Regions from separate parts of the Homo sapiens genome. Here all the other regions are linked to region 1. The links are contacts of gene promoters, found by promoter capture Hi-C in blood cells and fetal thymus (Javierre and others, 2016). All regions are on one chromosome and are shown on one strand. Each heading gives the region's core, a stretch centred on a gene start or on the middle of the fragment in contact. The rest is flanking DNA. Distances are from core to core; before and after follow the strand shown. Region 1 holds the start of MAN2C1 (mannosidase alpha class 2C member 1). Region 2 overlaps SNUPN (snurportin 1). Region 3 holds the start of PTPN9 (protein tyrosine phosphatase non-receptor type 9). Region 4 overlaps PTPN9 (protein tyrosine phosphatase non-receptor type 9).

What was found. Contacts are between HindIII fragments. The CHiCAGO score rates a contact against its expected background, and 5 or more counts as called.
Region 2: a contact is called between a fragment that was not itself captured here and the fragment with the promoter of MAN2C1 in region 1, in 8 of 17 cell types (naive CD4 T cells, naive CD8 T cells, activated CD4 T cells and 5 more). The highest score is 8.0, in naive CD4 T cells.
Region 3: the fragment with the promoter of PTPN9 here is called in contact with the fragment with the promoter of MAN2C1 in region 1 in 5 of 17 cell types (endothelial precursors, erythroblasts, activated CD4 T cells and 2 more); the score reaches 8.3 in endothelial precursors.
Region 4: a fragment that was not itself captured here is called in contact with the fragment with the promoter of MAN2C1 in region 1 in 1 of 17 cell types (naive CD4 T cells); the score reaches 5.6 in naive CD4 T cells.

The regions. Positions count from the first base shown.
Region 1 is chr15:75,367,265-75,370,084 of GRCh38, reverse strand. It overlaps MAN2C1 (mannosidase alpha class 2C member 1), which reads left to right and starts at 1,478. Exons shown (of 26, transcript NM_006715.4): 1 at 1,478-1,602; 2 at 1,887-2,012; 3 at 2,451-2,574. The coding sequence starts at 1,502. SIN3A (SIN3 transcription regulator family member A) reads left to right here. Exons shown (of 21, transcript NM_001145358.2): 21 at 1-706. RefSeq lists enhancers at 1,303-1,597, 1,282-1,601, 1,173-1,705 and a silencer at 1,732-1,811. The HindIII fragment of the contact is 2,518 bases long and covers 1-1,655 here.
Region 2 is chr15:75,600,232-75,603,051 of GRCh38, reverse strand. SNUPN (snurportin 1) reads left to right here. Exons shown (of 9, transcript NM_005701.4): 8 at 1,834-1,914. Among named protein-coding and RNA genes, the nearest start is that of PTPN9, 22 kb to the right of the region's middle. The HindIII fragment of the contact is 7,095 bases long and covers 1-2,820 here.
Region 3 is chr15:75,577,979-75,580,798 of GRCh38, reverse strand. It overlaps PTPN9 (protein tyrosine phosphatase non-receptor type 9), which reads left to right and starts at 1,484. Exons shown (of 13, transcript NM_002833.4): 1 at 1,484-2,085. The coding sequence starts at 2,023. RefSeq lists silencers at 1,127-1,616, 1,877-2,276 and an enhancer at 1,319-1,917. The HindIII fragment of the contact is 12,332 bases long and covers 1-2,753 here.
Region 4 is chr15:75,507,591-75,510,410 of GRCh38, reverse strand. PTPN9 (protein tyrosine phosphatase non-receptor type 9) reads left to right here. Exons shown (of 13, transcript NM_002833.4): 6 at 1,384-1,494. Among named protein-coding and RNA genes, the nearest start is that of SIN3A, 57 kb to the right of the region's middle. The HindIII fragment of the contact is 346 bases long and covers 1,161-1,506 here.

The DNA.
Region 1 (2,820 bases), core at 229-2,728:
AGAGACAGGGTCTTGCTATGCTGCCCAGGTTGGTCTCAAACTCCTGGCCTCAAGCTGTCCTCCCACCTCGGCCTCGCAAAGTGCTGAGATTACAGGTGTGAGCCACCCTGGCCTGATTTTAGGCTTTTTTTGTACTGGGGAGAAGAGACTGTGAGCCAAAGTGTAGGGTGCCAAAAAGAGCTTTGTGGGATGAGATTTTAGGGCAAAGCTGGGGCAGTGTCTGACTTGGCGGTGGTCATGTGTACTGATTTAGGGGAAAGATCTTGAGGTTTTCTCAAATAATTCACCTATCCCCGTGTTCCCTCAAGAAAGGTCATGTTGACCTGGAACCATAGGGGAAATTGGTGGGGTGTGATCAGGGTCAGCCCCAGCTGTTGCTGCCCCTGCAGTGTTTTGTCCAGAGCACTTGCCTGCAGGTCAGGATAGGATTTCAAGGCCAGTTCAGGAGAAAGTCCCAACCCACCAGTGCAACCAACAAAAGAGTAAGTTTTACCTACAGCCTGGGTTTTCACAAGTAGCATTTTTATTCCTCCTGCTGTCTGACATCTGAGCTCCAAGCTCTAAACCCAACCTGTATTATATGCAGCAGCAGGTTATCTTTGTTTTAAATCACATTTGTTATTCTGTACTTAGTCACCTTTCCGTGTGATCTGCATTTGAAATGTTGTAAACTTGGTCAGTATTTCCATTAAAATATCAGGGCTAATCTTGTGTATTTTTTTTTGTTCCTAATGATTTTATAGACAAAGACTCTTGGCAACCCCAGGAGAAAAAAAATAAAGCTGTCAGTGGAGTACTAGGGATGAGAATGAAACTGGAGGTCTGTTTCTGGTATTATGGCTTCCCGGGACTCTACAGTCCTGTATGGTGAAATACATTTTTCCATTGGGATCGTCAATGCCATGACTGTTCTGCCACCTCAAACTCCAGAGTTTCTGGTGATGTGCAAGAGTTAGCAATATACATTCAGTAAAGCGTGTAATCGAGTAAGTCGTAGTAACTTGGGCGTAAAGCTCTACCACCCTGCTCACTAACACCCTGATCTCCGTCCGGTATGAAAACACCTATTCCGGGTAGTCTGGCTCCACGTTAAGCAAACACCACTTTCCGTGTTCACCGACAGCTAGAGCCAGAGGTCTCCCGGTTGCTGCTTCTGAGGCTGGGTCTGCAGCAGCTGAGGCTCCCGCCTGTCTTGCCGAATGGCCTAAGTCTCTGTCTTGAGACTTTCGAGAGTTCTAATCGTCAAATTTCCCATTTTATTTTGAGATTTTCCCTGCGGCCCACTATTTCGGACAACATAGGAGAGCCTCAAAAACAGTTTCTAGCTTCCAACTCGGCTCAAAGTTCAGACAGCAGCTGGGCTTCCGAGAGCCGCCGGTGTTCCAAGAAAAGCTGCCCGGGACTGGGAGGCGCCCTCTGGACGCCGGAACCTTTGGTTTCCTGCCGTGGAGCGGAACGGTAGCGCCAGGGGCCTTCCGGAAAGAGGAGCGAGAGCCCGGCGATGGCGGCTGCGCCGGCCTTGAAGCACTGGCGCACCACGCTGGAGCGGGTGGAGAAGTTCGTGTCGCCGCTCTACTTTACCGACTGTAACCTCCGCGGCAGGTGTGGCCCCTGGTCCCCCGCAGCCGGCCGACCGCAACCGTGCGCCTCAAGCTTTCCTTCCGGGGAGAAACCTAAGCTGCAGCCACCCGGGCCGCGGGACAAAGTGCCCGCCGCGGGCAGGGCAGGGGCCGGGGAGGAGGGGGTAGGGAATGGACTGTGCCGCGGAGCGGCCAGGCAGCCCTCTTGGCGGAGGATCCAGGGAAAGTGCGGCCCCACCGGCCAGCTGGCCCCCAGGCGGAAACGGGGCGGCCTCCAGCATGTGCCCACCGGCCCGTCCCACGCAGGCTTTTTGGGGCCAGCTGCCCTGTGGCTGTGCTCTCCAGCTTCCTGACGCCGGAGAGACTTCCCTACCAGGAGGCAGTCCAGCGGGACTTCCGCCCCGCGCAGGTCGGCGACAGCTTCGGACCCACGTAGGTAACGCCCAGCGGGTGGGCGGGGCCACAGGCCTAGGGGAAGTCCCAACCCAGCTCCCAGCCACACCTTCGTTGTCTGCCCTCTGCCGTAGACAACTACGTGGGATCGAGCAGCACCCTCTGCTGGGAGCAGCACCCTCTGCTGGGAACAGCTCTCTGGTCCCTGGGTCTTCAGGGGATGGTTTTCATTCCCACGTGGCCGCCTCTGGACATCCCTTAGGAAGGGCACCCTAGGGATCACGAACCTTTGACGCCTCTGCCTGTTTCCCTCATCTTGCTTCTCACCTTGTTGCTCCTTTCTTGTGACTCAAAGCTGAGTACCTTGTGACACTGCAGATGCTTGGAGAGTTTCAAGCCCCTGCCGACACTTTATCCAAGGAAGGATATCAGGATAGGACTTCTACCTCTAGGCCTATCACAACAGCTCTCTTGCAGATGGTGGACCTGCTGGTTCCGGGTGGAGCTGACCATCCCAGAGGCATGGGTGGGCCAGGAAGTTCACCTTTGCTGGGAAAGTGATGGAGAAGGTCTGGTGTGGCGTGATGGAGAACCTGTCCAGGTGAGGAACCCTGTCCTAGGGCCAGGTATGGCCACATTTCAGCCCTGAAATGACTACAGCCCTTCTTCTGTGGACTCTGGAGAAGCCACAGCTGAGTTGCTCTGCCCACAGGGTGGTATCAGGATTTCAGGACTAGGGAAGTTGCCACTTGGGCATCTGTGCAATTGGTCCTTAGTTTTTATTGTGTATAATACAAACTTATAGGAAAACATTTCAAACAGTTCTAGATAAAGTAATGGATCTCTC
Region 2 (2,820 bases), core at 194-2,693, 230 kb before region 1:
CTGGGCCAGGCACAGTGACTCACATCTGTAATCCCAGCACTTTGGGTGGCCAAGGCAGGTGGACTGCCTGAGCTCAGTAGTTCGGAGCAGCCTGGGCAACATGGCAAAACCCCATCTCTACAAAAGAAATACAAACAAAAAAATTAGCCAGGTATGGTGATGTGTGCCTATAATCCCATCACTTTGGGAGGCTGAGGTAGGTGGATTGTTTGAGCCCAGGAGTTTGAGACCAGCCTGGGCAACACAGCAGAACCCCATCTCTACAAAAAAATACAAAAACAGATTAGGCATGGTGGCGTGCACCTATAGTTCCAGCTACTTGAGAGGCTGAGGTGGGAGGATCACTTGAGCCCAAGAGGTTGAGGCTGCAGTGAGCTGTGATTGTGCCACTGCACTCCAGCCTGGGTGAAAGAGCGCAACTCTGTCTCAAAAAAAACAACAAAAAACCTGGATCCCACCCCAGACCAGTTCAGTCAGAATCTCAGAGTAGGGCCTGTGCATCAGTAATATTTTTTTTTTTTTTTTTGAGACCGAGTCTTGCTCTGTTGCTCAGGCTAGAGTGCAGTGGCACAATCTCAGCTCACTGCAACCTCCGCCTCCCAGGTTCAAGCGATTCTTCTGCCTCAGCCTCCCAAGTAGCTGGGACTACTGGCATGTACCACCATGCCTGGCTAATTTTTGTATTTTTAGTAGAGACGGGGTTTCGCCATATTGGTCAGACTGGTCTCGAACTCCTGACCTCGTGATCCGCCCTTCTCGGCCTCCCAAAGTGCTGGGATTACAGGCGTGAGCCACCACACCTGGCCAGCATCAGTAATTTATTTTTATTTATTTTTTATTTTTAGAGACGGAGTCTCGCTCTGTCACCCAGGTTGGAGTGCAGTGGCACAATCTCGGCCCACTGCAAGCTCCGCCTCCCGGGTTCATGTCATTTTCCTGCTTCAGCCTCCTGAGTATCAGTAATTTTTAAAAGCTCCCTAGATGATTCTTGTGGATAAAAGAAGGTTGGGGCTGGGTACAGTGGCTCATGCCTATAATCCCAGCATACTGGGAAACTGAGGTGGGAGAATCCCTTGAGCCCAGGAATTTGAGGATGCAGTGAGCTGTGATTGTGCCACTGCTCTCTAGCATGGGTGACAGAATGAGATCTCATCTCTTAAAAAAAAGGGGGAGGAAAGATTGGGAACCACGACCTAGTAGTTAAGAGAGTAAGTAGAGGGGAATTAGTAGAGAAGGATGAGACTGAAAACTTTTCTTCTTTGTTTTTTTGTTTTGGCTTGGTTTAGTTTGGTTTGGTTTGGTTTTTGAGACAGGGTCTGGCTCTGTCACTCAGGCTGGGGTGCAGTGGCACAATCTGAGCTTACTGCAGCCTTGACCTCAGGCTCAAGCGATCCTTCTACCTCAGCAGCCTCCCAAGTAGCTGGGACTACAAGTTTTTCTTCTTTGACAGAGATTTTCTTTTCTTTTTGCTTTTTTTGAGAGGGAGTCTTGCTCTGTCACCCAGTCTGGAGTGCAGTGGCATGATCATGGCTCACTGCAACCTCCCCTTCCTGGGTTCAAGCTATTTTCCTCCCTCAACCTCCCAAGTAGCTTGGACTACAGGCACATGCCACTATGCCTGGCTAATTTTTGTATTTTTAGTACAGACGGGGTTTCACCATGTTGGCCAGGCTTGTCTTGATTTCTTGACCTCAGGTGATCCTCCTGACTTTGCCTCCCAAAGTGCTGGGATTACAGGTGTGAGCCACTATGCCTGGCCTGACAGAGATTTTCAATTGCTTGGGCCAGTATCATTTATAACGTACTAATTCCTTGTTCTAATTTCTATTTCAGTTTAAATTTGTGGGGCTAAAGAACTTCCCTTGCACTCCCGAAAGCCTGTGTGATGTGCTATCTATGGATTTCCCTTTTGAGGTAACGAAACCATTGTCTTTATTGCCTTGACATGATGATAGGCTGCAGAGAGACTTAGTTACACAAAGTCTTAAAATATTCCTTGATTGTGCTGTGTCAAAGCATCAGAATGGGACAAAGCTGATTCTGGAGAAAGGATGTACTTGCTGCCCTTCAGAGCCTGAGCTCCACCCATGCTGGATAAGTCAGAATGCTGGCACTGGAAGGGCCCTTAATGGACAGCTCGTCCAACTCCCTCATCTTACAGATGGAGAAACTGAGGTCCGGAGAAACTGAGGCCCAGATAGGAGCAAGACTTGCATGCCTAGATCCTTCTTGTGTGCCTCTTCCTACTGCAAGCTGAGACCCAGGTCCCTGGTTTGGCTGTCGTGGCTGCTTGTAAAGTGAAGGTGCTTCTGTGACTGAATGACTCCAACAAATGTCCAAATCCCTAATCCTTTCCTCACCAAAGAAGATGGCCCTTGGGGACAGCAGCACTTGCTGAGCAGGAGCATGAGTCAGGTGACCACCTCATTCCAGTTTGCTCAGGACTCGCCCTGTTTTAGCACTGAAAGTCTCACAGCGGCTGGGCATGGTGGCTCACGCCTATAATCCCAGCACTTGGGAAGGCCGAGGCCGGTGGATCACTTGAGGTCAGGAGTTCAAGACCAGCCTGGCCAACATGGCAAAACCTCGTTTCTACTAAAAATACAAAAATTAGCTGGGCGTATTGGCAGATGCCTGTAATCCCAGCTACTCGGGAGGCTGAGGCAGGAGAATCACTTGAACTTGGGAGGCAGAGGTTGCAGTGAGCCGAGATTGAGCCACTGCACTCCAGCCTGGGCAACAGCACAAGACTCTGTCTCAAAAAAAAAAAACAAAAAACAAACCTCACAGCCCCAGAGGCTCCCCAGTCCTCAACAGTCT
Region 3 (2,820 bases), core at 235-2,734, 210 kb before region 1:
GGAGGCCGAGGTGGGCGGATCACGAGGTCAGGAGATTGAGACCATCCTGGCTAACATGGTGAAAGCCCGTCTCTACTAAAAATACAAAAAAATAAAAAAAATAAAAATAAAAATTAGCCGGGCGCGGTGGCGGGTGCCTGTAGTCCCAGCTACTTGGGAGCCTGAGGCAGGAGAATGGCGTGAACCTGGGAGGGGGAGCTTGCAGTGAGCCGAGATCGCGCCACTGCACTCCAGCCTGGGTGACAGAGTGAGACTCCGTCTCAAAAAAAGAAAAACAAAAAAGCCAGGCGCGCGGTGGCTCACGCCTGCCTGTAATCCCAGCACTTTGGAAGACCGAGGCGGGCGGATCACAAGGTCAGGAGTTCGAGACCAGCCTGACCAACATGGTGAAACCCCGTCTCTACTAAAAATACAAAAATTAGCCGGGCGTGGTGGCTCGCACCTGTAATCCCAGCTACCCAGGAGGCTGAGGCAGGAGAATCGCTTGACCCCGGGAGGTGGAGGTTGCAGTGAGCCGAGATCGCGCCACTGCACTCCAGCCTGGGCGACACAGAGACTCCGTCTCAAAAAAAAAAATAAAAAAAAAATCATAGGAGCATCACAACTCACAGCACCTTCCTGTTGTCTGAAGGCCCCTCCTTTGGGTCCCTCAGGACTGGCTCCAGGGCTTCAGCCTTGGAACTAGTTGTGGACTTTGGGTCCCTTTGGAATATTTATCTTTGGCTTGGAATAATGCAACAACGTACCAGACCCAGCCTTGCCTTCTCTATGCCCCATTCCTCCCCAAATGACTCCAAGACTGTACCCCTAATCCTGAACCCTTTGCTGCACTTGCCCTAGTGAAAATCAAAGGTCTGCAAAGGCCGCGTCATTCCTGAATGATGTTCGGAGTCTGATGTCGTTTCTATGGGGGATTAAAATTAGCGACACTGGAGATGAATTACAGGGTGCAGCCAGTAAGGAGGGAGAGAGAGGGAGGCAGGTGCGATTCCTTCCACCTAAGCATCCTGGCCTGGCAGGCAACCTTTCCAGGGTCTTTCAGGCTGCAAGCGACAAATAGTTGAGGATTGTGGGTTTCTCACGCGTAGGTGGCAGCGGCAAGTTAACCCCAGGAGAGGTGCCAGTCAGCAGATAATTTGCAAACGAACGTATTCTCCTCCTCCTCCGAGGATCTGAGCCTCACGAAATACTCTTTTCTTCCTTTTTCTCCCTCCCGCAGTCGAGTTGCCTTCCGTCCAGCTAGGGTCCCCTCCCCGCCCGGGTCCCCTCCCCCTCCCGGTCCCCTCCCCCGCCCGGGCTCCTCTCTGTCTCCCCCTCCCGGACTGCGTCCTCGCTCCGCCGGGCCCTCCTCGCCGCCAGCTTGTGAATGAGACGCTCAGTTTCTCAATGGAGCCGCGGGGGGCTCGGGCGGCCGCGGGGCGGCCGCAGCGTTGGCCGTGAGTCAGGAGGGGGGCGCGTTTCCCTCGCTCCCTCTCCACTCCCTCCCTTTCGCTGCGGCCGCCCGCGAGGAGCCTGGCTGAGGCAGCCGCGCAGGTCGCAGGGCCAGCGTCCGCGAGGACGGCCCGGCTGGGCGGCCCCGAGCTCTGTGGCGCTGTGGAGGAGCGGGAGCGCGGCCGAGGAAGCGGGGCGCCGAGGGGGTCGGCGGCCTTCGGGAAATTTCCGCCGACCCTTCGCTCCCGGCTCTAAAAGTTCCTGATTTCCTATTTCCTTTTAAATCCCGAGTGGCTGTTAGCTCTTCGCCTGCACTTTTTCTTCCCCAGGAGATAAGGGGGAGTGTGAGGAACGGAGCGAATAATATAAAAAAGGATTTCCTCCCGGAAGAGAGCGGCAGTTCGGAGAGATTTTTCTTAAGGAAGCAGAAGCGGCGTTTGCGGCCGCTGCAGGCGCCGGGCCCTGCCGGCCACACTATGCGCGAGCCGGCCCCGGGCTGCTGAGGCGCGGGGACGCGGAAGCGGAGGCCGAGCGCGCCGGGCTCCCGCGCTCGCGAGCGAGTTTTGTCCGCCCGGCGGCGGTGGCGGGGGGATGGAGCCCGCGACCGCGCCCCGGCCCGACATGGCGCCGGAGCTGACCCCGGAGGAGGAGCAGGTAAGCGGGCCCGAGGCCGCCGCGTTGGGTGTGTCCGGGCCCCCGAGGCCTACGCCGGCCTCTGCCTCCCGAGTGCCGGCTCTTTGCAGCCACGGGGCCGCAGCCCCCCGCTCCCGTGCCCGGCTCGCGGGCCTCCCTCACCGGCGACCGCGCCCCAGGCCGCCACCCCCTCGTCGGGGGACCCACGGGACCCTACTCCCGTTCCCGCCGCTTCTTTCGCCGAGGCTTACCAGCCTCAGACGGTGCCCTCCGCACCCCACCCCCTATTCCAGGGGCAAAGTTCCTTGGATCCAGGGGCCTTCTTCCCGAGATTTGCAGAACCGCTGCTTGCCCCCGGCCCTTCCACTCCCTTGTAAATGTTTTCCGTGAGGGTTTGTGGCTTTTGAAGGGCAGGAAAAGCCCCAGTTTGGGGGGTGCTTCCTGTGGGGATTATCTCCCTTCCCGAGGAGAGGGCTGAGAGTATTGGATGCATAGATGCCCTAGATTTTCAGAGGAGCCTCTTAGGTTTCTCAGGCCCACTTGGGCAGGTTATGGAAGATCCAGCCCTTCTCGTGTTCCTAAAGTCCCTGGCCTTGACCCCCCTATTCAGCTATCCCAGACGGGGCGCATCTCCTCACCCGCGCTTCCCTACCCTCGTCTCATCTGACTGTCTCCATCTTTCTGAAGCTTACATTGAGCTCTATTGTTCCTTAAAAGCCTATGACCTTTAGTTTTCAGAAGGAAGTGGTTTGCTGT
Region 4 (2,820 bases), core at 84-2,583, 140 kb before region 1:
CAAAAATTAGCCAAGTGTAGTGGCGCAGTCCCAGTTACTTGGGAGCCTGAGGTGGGAGGATCATTTGAGCCTGGGAGGTACAGGACTCAGTGAGTGGCGATTGTGCCACTGCACTCCAGCCTGGGCAACAGCAAGATCCTGTCTCAAAAACAATACAAAACAAAAACAGAGCAGCCAAGCAAACAAAAAAACTAAGCACTGTGGATTAGGAATGAATGATTTTTTCATCTTTATATCTTGTGTGGATGAGGATATCTCCTTTTTTTAGATCTCATTTGCCATAGTGCACATTAGATTATTGATTGGTAAATACATAGATGAATGAATAGATTAAAAAAAGATTATGCATACATCAGACTGAATGAAAAGTTATGAAAGAGAAATTTTTAAAATTTTTAAATTTTTATTTATTATTGTTAAAATTTTGAGATGGAGTTTCGCTCTTGTCGCCCAGGCTGGAGTGCAGTGGTGCGATCTTGGCTTACTGCAACCTCCACTTCCTGGGTTCAAGCGATTCTCCTGCCTTAGCCTCCCGAGTAGCAGGGATTACAGGCACATGCCACCATGCCCGGCTAATCTTTGTATTTTTAGTAGAGATGGGGTTTCACCATGTTGGCCAGGCTGGTCTCAAACTCCTGACATCAAGTGATCTGCCCGCCTCAGCTTCCAGAAGTGCTGGGATTACAGGCGTGAGCCACTGTGCCCAGCCATATTATTTTTTTTGAGACAGAGTTTCACTCTTGTTGCCCAGGGTAAAGTGCAATGGCTTGATCTCAACTCACTGCAGCCTCTGCTTCCTGGGTTCAAGTGATTCTCCTACCTCAGCCTTCTGAGTAGTTGGGATTACAGGTGTCTGCCACCGTGCCTGGCTAATTTTGTATTTTTAGTAGTGATGGGTTTTACCATGTTGGCCAGGCTGGTCTTGAACTCCCAACCTCTGGTGATCCACCCACCTCGGCCTCCCATAATGCTGGGATTATAGGCATGAGCCACCGCACCTGGTCGAGAAATGTTTAATGTTCAGTTTATTCATGATCTCATTTTTCCTTCAAGTTTTAATAACATAACTTTTTTAAGAGGCATATATGTATGCTGATGTGTGGTATGTGTAGGATATCTGTTGAGATGAGAAGTCAGAATAGTTTTTGATCCATAAAGCTTACGGTAGACAAGAACTTAACATTGTTATTTTTAAAGGTAAATCAGCTTCTAATTTCTTCAGTTTGTTTAACCACTTTTCCTCTAGCTGCTGAGATCAAACCTGAATTAGGCTGTAGACTCCCCCTGCTGGGTAAGAATGGGGAGAAGAGCAGAAAACCTAAACTTGGGCTTGAAGAGTCACAGGTTCCATTACACTTAAATCCTCATGTGTTTTCTCCACAGGGAGCATTTCCAGCTCGTTTGAAGAAGGTGCTGATTGTGGGGGCACCCATATGGTTCCGAGTGCCCTATTCCATCATCAGTCTCCTCCTGAAGGACAAAGTCCGGGAGAGGGTAAGGCAAGCTTGCCCTTTTTTATCTGGAGGTGAATAGATACAGTGAATTCCTGCCAATTAATTTTCTACCTTCAAAAAATCCTCCTGGCGTGTCTTCTAGAGCCTGTTCTGCTTCTGTTAGTGCATTCACTTATATTCTCTACCTGATGCATTAGTCAGTTCAATACAGACTGCCTCTCTTACTGTCCTACGAGCTTCTTGAAGTTCAAAACTAAACACAGTTTATCTGGTTCTCACTTTCTATAGCACCTTGCATAAGATAGTACTGAAGGAACGTGTCCTGGAGGTAACTTAGGGATAGCTGCTACTTCCAAAATTTATCCTAGTGCTGCATAGGCCTTTAATATTTAACAGCTTGTAATATAACTGCATTAGTTGAACTGGCATTAGAATTTGTTCAACTGGAAACATCATTCAATCCCTTGACCACCAGGGTTGTGGAGGAAAGTTTTTCGTTATGTCTCTTTCTACATTTATTCCTGGCATTTTTTTTTCTCAGAATACCTTGTTGCTTCCCAATTTCAAAAGCGTTCAAAATTACTTTAATTCTGGGCCAAGTGTAATGGCTCATGCTTATAATACTAACACTTTGGGAGTCCGAGGCCAAGGCGGGAAGATCGCTTGAGGCCAGGAGTTTGAGACCAGCCTAGGCAACACAGTGAGACCCCGCCGCCACAATAAAACCAGAAACTTTAATTCTGTTATAATCTCCTGCGTGTTCCATGATTAAAAGATTTATGGTCTCAGTTACTGATTGCAGCAATTAAAAGACAGGACATGAAAGTGAAAACATTTGGTTCTGTGGAAGCTGCTTAGAGACCTAATGACGCAGAGTAGGAGAGAGCTTTTCTTTTTTTTTTTTTTTTTTTTTTTTTGAGAGTGTCTCACTCTGTTGCCTAGGCTGGAGTGCAGTGGCACGATCTTGGCTCACTGCAGCCCCGCCTCCTGAGTTCAAGCGATTCTTCTGCCTCAGCCTCCTGAGTAGCTGGGAGTACAGGCGCACGCTACCACACCCAGCTAATTTTTGTATTTTTAGTAGAGACGGTGTTTCACCATATTGGCCAGGCTGGTCTCGAACTCCTGACCTCATGATCCGCCCACCTCAGCCTCCCAAAGTGCTGGGATTACAAGCGTGAGCCACCTTTTTTGAGACGGAGTCTCGCTCTGTCTCCCAGGCTGGAGTGCAGTGAAGCGATCTCGGCTCACTGCAAGCTCCGCCTCCCAGGTTCAAACCATTCTCCTGCCTCAGCCTCCCTAGTAGCTGGGACTACAGGCGTGTGCTGTCACGCCCGGCTAATTTTTTGTGTTTTTAGTAGAGACGGAG